Regions from separate parts of the Homo sapiens genome. Here region 1 is linked to region 2. Evidence: promoter capture Hi-C in 16 types of primary human blood cells and fetal thymus (Javierre and others, 2016). All regions are on one chromosome and are shown on one strand. Each heading gives the region's core, a stretch centred on a gene start or on the middle of the fragment in contact. The rest is flanking DNA. Distances are from core to core; before and after follow the strand shown. Region 1 overlaps STAG2 (STAG2 cohesin complex component). Region 2 holds the start of STK26 (serine/threonine kinase 26).

Evidence for each region. The method cuts DNA at HindIII sites, captures the fragments that hold promoters and counts their contacts. A CHiCAGO score of 5 or more calls a contact.
Region 1: a contact is called between a fragment that was not itself captured here and the fragment with the promoter of STK26 in region 2, in 1 of 17 cell types (total CD8 T cells). The highest score is 5.5, in total CD8 T cells.

The regions. Positions count from the first base shown.
Region 1 is chrX:123,962,704-123,967,986 of GRCh38, forward strand. All of the region lies in intron 1 of STAG2 (STAG2 cohesin complex component), which reads left to right. Among named protein-coding and RNA genes, the nearest start is that of STAG2, 3.6 kb to the left of the region's middle. RefSeq lists enhancers at 61-160, 251-510. The HindIII fragment of the contact is 7,160 bases long and covers 271-5,283 here.
Region 2 is chrX:132,018,785-132,024,567 of GRCh38, forward strand. STK26 (serine/threonine kinase 26) reads left to right here and starts at 4,518. Exons shown (of 12, transcript NM_016542.4): 1 at 4,518-4,623; 2 at 4,724-4,875. The coding sequence starts at 4,834. RefSeq lists enhancers at 4,066-4,612, 4,100-4,149, 4,600-4,759, 4,613-5,160, 5,130-5,199 and a silencer at 4,310-4,559. The HindIII fragment of the contact is 2,994 bases long and covers 2,560-5,553 here.

The DNA.
Region 1 (5,283 bases), core at 2,601-5,100, 8.1 Mb before region 2:
AAACTTTTGATCTGTAAGGTTAGATTTAAAGTAAACGAGGCGCTTGTGTTGGTTTGCAATGGTTCCTTAAAATGCGCGGGCCACCCCCTTCTCCCACCATAAAGCCCCATCTTCCCTTCACACTGGAGTGTAAATTCCATACCCCTTTTCTCCCACGGACCGCCGTATTTCGCAGCAGCCACACCCTGTATTTGTCTCTGTGGATTGGACTCATTATCAGCTTAATTTAGTGACTCTTAAACCACCATGATGGGACTTGCTTAAGCACGAAGCTTCTTTTCCTGTTTAGTCCTAGTGGTTAGTGTCGAAAGAGGAATCATCGAGGTTTCTTGATGAAACCTAGTGCGGTCCAACCTCTGCCTTTTTTTCTGTTGTCTTTTTTCCTACTCCGGGCTGTTGGCGGTGTCAGCACCGCTGCTGGGGGCGGGGGTGGAGGGGAGAAAGAGTCGGGTTACCGAAGTGCGTCATTCCTGGCTCTAGCAGGGCCTGCTCGGGAGCTGCTGGTGTTTGTTACTGTCCTCGCAGCACTTTTCTGCCAACCTTCTCTCTCTGCGTATTGGTTAGGAGCAAAAGCAGGAGGCGGTCTCCTAATTCTGTCTGTAGCCTAGCGCGTTGCGTTTAAGGGTATATCTGAACTTATTTTGTTAAAAAAAAGGCTCTGGGAAGTGGATGCATTTGTTTAATGACATATAATTCAGGTAGTTTAGGCTTGCTCTCATATACTTTCCGATGAACAGTGGGGTTAATTTTCAACATTTTCAACCACTTAACGTTAAAATGCCTGGTTTTCTTTCTACATTGATATCAATCTATAATTAGGGATCAGAAGGACCAGTTTAAGGTATATAAGTGTTCAGCAGTTTTTCAAGTGGTTGAATTGCAGTTTTATGACACATTATGTTAAATAGTCGATTTTTTTTTTTCATTTTGAACTAAGGTGCCACGTTAAGTAAGTTAATTGCAGATGTTTAAGTTCGTTTTCATCACATTTCCCTATTTGTCTTTTTAGGTATAATTTTAAATATGCCCTTTGGGTTTATGGACTTCATTAAAATTCTTAAAGATGGTTATATCTTTGTGTTTAACTGAATTCTTAAATTTATCACCTACCAAAGAATTGTGTAAGGCGTAAGGCGGCTGTATAGTTACATTGTTGGATTTTGACTTAACATGCTAGTTTTTGATACTTTTGCTATCTTTGGGTAGAAGTGTACTTAGAGAACATAGTATCTTCCTCTTAATTCTTTTTGAAGATAATAATGAGAGGAGGGAGTGGGTAGGAGGTAGGTGTGAAGCAGAAGTGGCCTTGAGTTGATTATTGTAGCTGGATGAATACAGAAGCGCTCATTGTTACTATTATTCTCTCTACTTTTGTGCGTGCTGTTAAACATTTCCATAGTTTAAGATAAACTTTTTTTGCAGTAGAATTTCCAGATTGTCTTACAGTCTTGGGGGTAATGACTTAAGTTTATATTTACATGTCAAAATTACTTGCATAGGAAATTTAGCCTTGTGTAAGTGATTACACAATGCTTGGCAAAACTTTCAAAAAAAAAAAAACGTTTAAACGGGAACTAGTATAAAACAGGCAACATAAATACTTATAAATTGGTTGAACTTTAAATGTTTATAACTTAGCCTGAATGTGCTCTACTTTTAGTTTCCTTTTTAATTCTTTGAAAACAGGAAAATTCCATTTGCAATTTTTGTAAATTCTGCTTAGTGTCTATTTCATCAAGTTGGAGTTACAGTGAGTCAGTATGAAAGGGATTTACTATTAATAGGAGGGGCTTTGGCAGTTGCAGTAAGTGACAGTGGAAGGGATTGAGGTACCATAGGGAGCATTCCTGGTAGAAAGATCTAGGTAGCTGAATTCAGTTTCAGAATTTGGTGTTTAATGACTAGGTAGAGAAGTGGGTTGGAAAAGAAATGTACTTATTAGCTATTCCTTCCCACTGTGAAGTAACTATAGTATTCTAAGGTGTATCAGAGACTGGCAGAGAGGGTGGAGTGGGTTTTTTTTTTTTTAACTGATAAGAAAATGAGTGTTTACATTTAAAATGGTTTAAATCACCTCATGCCCCAAGGATCTGGTGCTATAACTAGTTAGAAGTTGATATGTAAAATATTTCAATATTGTCTGTTAACATTCTGACCATTACCCGTAAACAGTAAAAATGTGTTGCAATGACAATCCTTGGTCTCCCTTAATTAGTGCATTTGTGAACTGCTCCTAAATTCTATTAAGGTAAGTGCCTTTTTTTTTTTTTTTTTTGGCAGTTCTATACTGTTCAGTGTCAGGTTTATTTTTTTCCCCCAGGAGATACATTTTAAAAATACATGTCACAGTTCCGAAAGGAATCCAAAACAATGGATATTTAATTTATAGCAAAATTTCACCCCAATCTGGGAACAGACATTTTGTAACTGTTACCATTAGTCTGTTTGTGTATTTCATATTCAGGATTTTAGCTTTAGAAGGATGTTAAAGGAAAATAGGTGACATATTTCAAATTTTTATTCATATACAAATATTCTTAGTAGATGGTAAGGATTGTGGCATCAGATTTATTTTATTGTGGTGAGGCAATAGCTAAACTACTACACTAACACATGATGAGTTTGGTAACTTTCAAGTATATTTAGTTAGGATTTTTTAAAGCCCAAATGCTCAAATAAGATTTTCATGAAATCAAATTCTACATTTCTTTTTCAACTGTATTGACTTCTGCGGTCACCTGAGGACTTATGAATTAAAGTGAATGGGATGGGCTTGGGGGACAGGCTAAGGCTCAGATCTATTCCTTTGGGAATTTAGGGTTAGATGTGAAAATATGCAGTTTAGTAATGCTTAATATTGTGCATGTTTAACTGATACCACCCACAGTCATATGTGGGAAGGTAGTAAACAGAGAATAGCATAATCTTTCTGCTTCGGGTTCTTTATAATAGATGGCAGACTTCAGTTTTTGATGCTGCAAGTTGACTTTTGAACTTAAACCAAAATCGGCGGGGCACAGTGGCTCACACCTGTAATACCAACACTTTGGGAGGCTGAGAGGCTGAAGTGGGGGGATCACTTGAGCCCAAGGAGTTCAAGACCAGCCTGGGCAACATAGGGAGACCCCATGTTTATAGATAATTTAAAAATTAGGTGTGGTGGTGCACACCTGTGGTCCCAGCTATTTGGGAGGCTGAGGCAGGAGGATCACCTGAGCCCGGTACATAGAGGCTGCAGTAAGCCACGATTGCGCCACTGCACCCAGCCTGGGCAACAGAGCAAGACCCTGTCTCAAAAAAAAATTAAAAATAAACTAAAATGTACAGTTTACTATATAATGGAGTACCGTTTTGGGAGTTGGGGAGAATAGCGAGGGAGAGGGATAGTTTCAGGTATGGGCATCAGTATATACTGAAGTGTGATTGTTGGAGAGTAAGGAAGGAACTTTAAAGACATAGGCTATTTTAAAAGTTTTTGGCTGGGCACCATGGCTCACGCCTGTAATCCTAGCACTTTGGAAGGCTGAGGCAGGCGGATCATGAGGTCAGGAGTTCAAGACCAGCCTGGCCAACATGGTGAAACCCCCATCTCTACTAAAAATACTAAAATTAGCTGGACGTGGTGGTGCGCGTCTGTAGTCCCAGCTGCTTGGGAGGCTGAGGCAGGAGAATCGCTTGAACCTGGGAGGCAGAGGTTGCAGTGAGCTGAGATCGCGCCACTGCACTGTAGCCTGGGCGACAGCGAGACTCCGTTTAAAAAAAAAAAAAGTTCTTAACATTTTTCTGCATTGGCTACATGTTCAGGACTTTAGTTCGTGTTTCAGTACTGTCCCTGTGTAATAATTCTTTATGTTTCTGGGTATCATAAATGATGGTTATTGCGTGTTCTGATTGGCAAAGATATATGATAAAGCAAAATTATCAGTTTGATTTTTCAGTCTCTTGAGTTGACTGCTTTACGTTTAATTTACCCAAATTTTATATTTCTTCAGTGTAAGTGGTGTTGCTTAGTGGAGTCTAATTTTTGTTGATGTGCCTTTTAAAAATCTATGCATCTTCAGCAGCTGTGGTAATCTGCTACCTGAATTGTGTTTTTAATGTGTGCTTGCTATAGATCTTTGATACTCACCAGTAGACACCAAGAAGTCTTTACATATGGTTATTGTAGTAAGTCAAGAAGAGATTTATTTATTTTTTGAGACGGAGTTTTGCTCTTGTTGCCCAGGCTGGAGTGCAGTGGCATGATCTTGGGCTCCCTGCAACCTTTGCCTCCCGGGTTCAAGTGATTCTCCTGCCTCAACCTCCCAGTAGCTGGGATTACAGGTGTCCGCTACCACGCCCAGCTAATTTTTTGTGTTTTTAGTAGAGACAGAGTTTCACCATGTTGGTCAGGGTGGTCTCAAACTCCTGACCTCAGGTGATCCACCCACCACAGCCTCCCAAAGTGCTGGGATTACAGGCGGAGCCACCGTGCCTGGCCAAGAAGAGATTATTGAAATTGTTTTCCATTCCTTCTGCCGAAGAAAGAGAGGATGAATAATGTCAATGGTGTATTTTTTTTTTTTTTTTTTTTTTTTTTGAGACGGAGTTTTGCTCTTGTTGCCCAGGCTAGAGTGCAATGGTGCGATCTTGGCTCACTGCAACCTCCACCTACTGGGTTCAAGCGATTCTCCTGCCTCGGCCTCCCGAGTAGCTGGGATTACAGGCATGTGCCACCACACCGGGCTAATTTTGTACTTTTAGTAGAGACGGGGTTTTTTCCATGTTGGTCAGGCTGGTCTCGAACTCCCGACCTCAGGTGATCTGCCTGCCTCGGCCTTCCAAAGTTCTGGGATTACAGGCGTGAGCCACTGCGCCCAGCTGGCCTATTCTTTTTTATTACAGTCATGCATTGCTTAACGGCGGGCATACCTTCTGAGAAATGCATCTTTAGGTGATTTTGTTGTGTGAGCATCATACAGTGTACCTACACACACCTAGATGGAATAGCCTACTATACATCTATGCCATATGGTATGACCTGTTGCTCCTAGGCTACAATCCTGTACAGCATGTTGCTGTACTGAATATCGTAGGCAGTTATAATACAGTGGTAAGTATTTGTGTTTGAAAACAAAAAAGATACAATAAAAATACGGTATAAAAGAAAAAATAGTACACCTCTATAGGGCAGCTCCCTTATAATCTTATGGGACCACTGTCTTTTTTTTTTTTTTAGATGGAGTCTCCCTCTGTCGCTCAGGCTGGGGTGCAGTGGCGAGATCTTGGCTCACTGCAACCTCT
Region 2 (5,783 bases), core at 3,268-5,767:
CTAGGCTCAAAATGTGTAAGTCCAAAATGTGAAATCCTACCTTTAAATTTTGTAAAGTAGAATAAGAGGTCAAATTTATCATGATGAGTTAACATATTTGAAGGCTAGGTAATGCCTGGTATATTAGAACATGCTCAGTAATTAATTTTTTTAAAAAATCATTATTTTTTTACTTAAAGTTATTTTCTGTTCAACACTATTTTTCATTAAGTTGTATTCACTTTTAGGGGGCAGATGATCTATGGTTCATTACAGAGGTAAAATAAGAATACTGCTTTGTTTCTATTACCCACTTGATGTGGCTCAATATCTTATGAGTCTTTTCTTTATTTGGTCCCAGCCACAACACTGAGCTAAAATCTTCAGAGAACAATGATTTTCAAGTCTGTTTCTTGGTTAGTAGCTCCTAATGCAAAAAGTGCGGAGCATGGTTTCTCAAACCTTATCATTATTGACATTGTGGACTGAATAGTTCTTTCTTGTGGGGACTGCCCTGTGCGTCGTAAGATGTTTAACAGCATCCCTGGCCTCCACTCTCTAGATGCCAGTAGCACCTACCTGCCTATTTGTGATACCCAGAAATGTTCTCCAGAAGGCATAATTGGTCCTAGTTGAAAAACATGCCCTTATTTCACTGCCGCCTGTATTAAAGTTTGGCTATTTCCATCTACCTACACTTTAGCTAAGAACCAGTCAATTCAGTAAATATTTGTAAACATGGGTAAAGTTAAATATTTAATACAGGTTGAGCATCCCTAATCTGAAAATCTGAAATCTAAAATGCTCCAAAATTGGAAACTTTTTGAGTGCTGACATGATATCACAAGTAGAAAATTCCATACCTGACACCTTTGCTTTCTGATGGTTCAATGTATACCAACTTTGTTTCATGTACAAATTAAAAATATTGTATAAAACTATCATCAGGCTATGTATATAAGGTGTATCTGAAGCATAAACGAATTTAATGTTCAGACTTGTGTCCCATACCCAAGATATTACGTATATGCAATTATTCCAAACTCCAAAAACATCCAAAATCTGAAGCACTTCTTGTCCTAAGCATTTTGGATAAGGGATACTCAACCTGAATAGAGGGTATGACAAATGTCAGGAAATTGAAACCAGGTGCCAAATGTAAATTATTAAGTTTTGAGGCCTCAAGAACACTGTCTAACTTGAAATTCACTAACCTTACCTAATCTGTGTATAATGTTACTCAAAACCTTACCTAATCTGTGTATAATCTTATTTTATTTATATGGTTATTAAGTATTCACAGCCATTCAGATCACATCAATCAAGCAGGTACCAAATCCTTTCTGAGGTGCTATGTTACACTCTACGTGTGACCAAAAAGCATAAGTTGTGTCTCTCCTCAAGAAACGTTTTCCATTAAACTACGGGAATACACTGTAATATATTTTCAGACTCTGGGCTGACTTTTTTTTTTTTTTTTTTTTGGAGATGGAGTCTCGCTCTGTGGCCCAGGGCGGAGTACAGTGGCATGATCTCAGCTCACTGCAACTTCTGCCTCCCAGGTTCAAGCAATTCTCCTGCCTCAGCTTCCAGAGTAGCTGGGATTACAGGCACACACCACCATGTCCAGCTAATTTTTGTATTTTTAGTAGAGATGGGGTTTCGCCATGTTGGCCAGGCTGGTCTCAAACTCCTGACCTCAGGTAACCTGCCCGCCTCGGCCTCCCAAAGTGCTGGGAACAGGGGTGAGGCACCACGCCTGGCCTGGGCTGACAATTTGAAGTAAAATATTTAAGTTTCCTTTGTGTGTGTGTGTAACAAAAGCGTACTTGAATTTCTTGTCATTTTATTTAAGAATTTGAGAAATAATCCAGTTCAAAGTGGAAAAAAAGTTTCTAATGCTCATAAAATTTGAATTGTTTTCAAATGTTGACACCTTCACAAGATTTAATTTATAGATACACACACACACACAGACACAGACACACACACACACACACACAGGAAAAATCATTTAAAAGCCCACAAGCAATCCCATGTAAAAACTCAAGTGATCTCTATCAATTATAACAACAACTGATGCTTTATTTAATAGCAGTAAACCTAAATAAAGGCTAAAAAGCTCACTAAGATCTCAAATGCAATGTCTTTCAGGAAATGTCTCAATATTCCAGGTCTCAGCATTAAGCTTTTATTCTTCCACATAGTTACATAACTCTGGCCCAGAATGATGTCAGAGAAAGTCATTTCTCTGATATGCTTAATTTACTTATCTATCAAAATTATACAACTGGCTCATAAGTAGTTGTGAAATTAAACTAGCAGGAAAGAATTTTGGAGACTAAATAATGAAAGATGTAACACACAATAAACTGAACAATTTAAATGTTCAGTAAGGGCAATGCCTAGGGGTTTAACCTGACATCAATAAAATATATAGTGTATACATTATGCACCTAGTAACCTCAGTGGAGAATTCAAAAGAAGTTCATTCATTCATTCAACAATTATTTATTGAGGGCCTACTACATGCCATGAACCTAGTCTCTGGGGATACAGCAATGGACAAAATGTATAAAAAGCTTGCCCTCAGACTCCTGCCATCCTACCTGAATCATTCTCATGTAAGAGAGGCTGGATCTCTGCCCTCAAGGACCTAATATGGGCACACAAAACAAATGAAATATATGAAATAAGAAGAAAGAACTACAGTGTGAGCGCTGCTCACATTGGAGGAGTTTGAAGGAGGGCTTGGAGCAACTAGGAAGGGTCAATGGAGGTGAGATTTGAGACAGGTCTTAAATGATGGAGCTTGATTCAGACCCTTGCGACTTAAAAGTGTGATCTAAACATCATCACCATGTGAGAGCTTGTTAGCATTGCAGAATCTTGGGCCCAGTCCAGACATGGGAGATAAAAATCTGCGCTTTTGAGGGAGCAAAAGAACCCTCGGATTTCTATGGACATTAAAAGTTTAGGTGGCACTGCAGGTTTCCGGTCAGGCTGGCAATGTTGTGAGCTGGGTTGGTGGGAAATCGAGACTAGATTGGAGCCTAACATTAGGTTAGAAATAGTGAAGGGCTGGACTTGGGGAACTAGGAGTAAGGAAAATGCAATTGTACCTTTTATCATCATTAAACACAAACAGAAACCATAGAGAAAGTAGTAAGTTTATCACCAGTCAGAGGGACCTGCGTCTGAATTCCCAGCTGTACCACTTCTTAATTGCGTGACATTTCGGTCAAATTATTTAACCTGGTTGAGCCTTTTTCTTCATCTGTAAAATGAGGGGAAATCAATAAGACTCCAGAAGGCCCTTGTACAGGTTCAGTAAGGTATTAATAACACATAGAAAGCACTTAGCAGTCCCTGGCACAATGAAAATAATATCCATTAATAATAACGATATTGATAAGAATTATATACTATTCTCTGAAAAAGATTTAAAAGGAAGAAGAGAAACTATCTTTTACCACTAGAGGCCCCCCACCGTGTGGTGCGTAGAGACCCATAACAAATTTCAAGGTAAGGAACTTCATCTTCATTTTAAACTGGCACTCGACTATTACTTTTTTAAAAAGTAATTAACCCCTTACGTGTTCCCAAAGGTGCCTTCATAATGAAATTCCTGTTACTATTATTACCAGTGTTACTGTCGCTACTGTTAGAGTACTCTCAAAAGAGCCTGTCTCCCTCTCCTGGAGTAGAACTTAAAATGGGGCGGAGGCAGGGAGTTACCAAAACCACTGCAGTGTATGCTGATTTCAATAACCTGTACTGCTAACGATCCAATCTCATTTCCCAAGCCTCTACTATCCTCATTAATTTTTCTGCCGATGTACCATCTGTTTTCCAATTTCCCTCTGCCTTACACGTGCAGAACTTGTGGTAGAGAGAAGCCCTAGTTTGGCCGTTCTGCAAGGGATAGCCCAGGAGGTAGGGGGAACCTTAAGTTGAAGTCACCTGAAGCATGTTTGGGGTCAGGGAACTCGGAAAGCAAGAGTGTGGCCACAGATCTGCCCAGAGGCGCGACCCCCAGCTGAGGAGACCAGATGGCGGGAAAAAGCGGGGGTCCACCGACTCCGCGGCTATCTGTAATCCTACCCTTGGCCAGGCCGGGGAGCCAAGAAAGACTTCCAACACTCCCCAAGTTTCAGCTCAAGTCGTCTCCGAGGCTGCGTGTGCCCCAGCCTCGCACGCCTCCCTGCAACGTGGCCGCATCTGGGGCGCCCTCATACCCTCAGGGTTTCCCAAACTCTTCCATTCTCTTCCCAGGCCCAGCCATGTCCCAGGTCTCCGGGTCCCCGGGTTCTCCTCTCCGCGTGCCGGGAGAGTCTCCAGCTTCTCAGACTCCAGCAACCCCAGCCAAACCTCTTCGCTGCCTGGAGCCTTGGCTCCCGCGACACCGCCCGGCTGCGGGGCGGGGGCAGGGCCAACGGCGGAACCGCCCCCAACCGCCTCCCAGGCCAGGCGAGCAGGCGGGTGGCTGGGGCGCCTCCACCTCCTCTTCCTAAAGCGGCGAGGCGCAGAGGAGCGGCATCACTCGAGCCCAGGTCCCAGCCACCACCACTCACAGCGCTCGGCGTTCAGGAAGAGGAGCAGCAGCGGAGGCGGCTGCTTCAGCGGCGGGCGGGCGCCAGAAAGGTAGACTGAGTCCCAGGGAGCTGCGCCGCTAACAGCCCACCTCCTAGCCCCGGGCTACGCGCCGCCAGCCCAGTAACCCCACTTTTGTGTGTCCTCCCAGGCCCCGATCGAAAAGCCTGGGAGGGCCGCCGAACTACCCCCGGAGGGAGGAGCCAGTCCGAACCCAAGGCGCCACCGCCGCAGAAGCGGAGCGAGGCAGCATTCGCCTCCATGGCCCACTCGCCGGTGGCTGTCCAAGTGCCTGGGATGCAGGTGAGGAAGCGCAGGCCGCCCCCGCCGCCCACGTGACTGCTTGGGAGCCCGGTGCGCCCTCGGTGCTGGGCACCGGCGACAAGGGACGGCCCCAGGGCTCCCCTGAGGGCAGGGCCGGTCACTATGGCCAGGTGACCTGGGAGTAGGGCTGGAGGTGTTTCCTGGTGTGTAGGCTAGGTAGTGCTCTTCGCTGGGAAGGCGAGGCGGGACTGGAGCGCGCAACTAGGTGGAGATTGAGGGCGGTTGGGGGTATAAAAATAGGCCAGAGCCACAGACACCTGCGCCTGCTGAGCTTGGCACGGTTGGGGATGGGGGGGCGGAACTTAACCTGGGAGAGATGGAAGTGCCTTGGAATTTGTGGGGTATAACGCGAGTAGTGAGTGCCCTACACCCCCCACCCCAAACACACACTCAAGTTGGGGCGGGGCAACACCAGGGGTGGCGGCGGCGGCGGCTTGAATTGGGCTCTTCCTGTGTGCGTAGGGCTAAGAGAGAGGTGACCTCTTTCTCCCTTTCGGTACTGCTGCTTAAGGGCAAAGTTGTAGCTTGCTCCCCGACCTAGCCCAGCCCATAGTGTGGCGTGAGAAATGCTGGTTCTGTTCAGAGTCACTGAGGTGATGACTTCTCAGCCCCCTCCGTGCCTTTCCCACAAGATGACTGTTACATGTGGTTAAAGGAAGCTTTTTGTCTTGGACAAGGGACTACTGCATGGGACCCAACTTGTTACTCGAAGTCTACCCAGCCCAACCCCCTCCCATTATATTTTCATTTTATTAAAGATAAGCTATGTCAGAAAACTTTTTATGCTGTTATGTTTTTAAATCGGTGCATTTTAGGCTATCTGCTAAGTGTTATCCAAATTTACTAACTTTTTAAAGCATTCATGTTCTATTTTTTTTTCCTTTGCT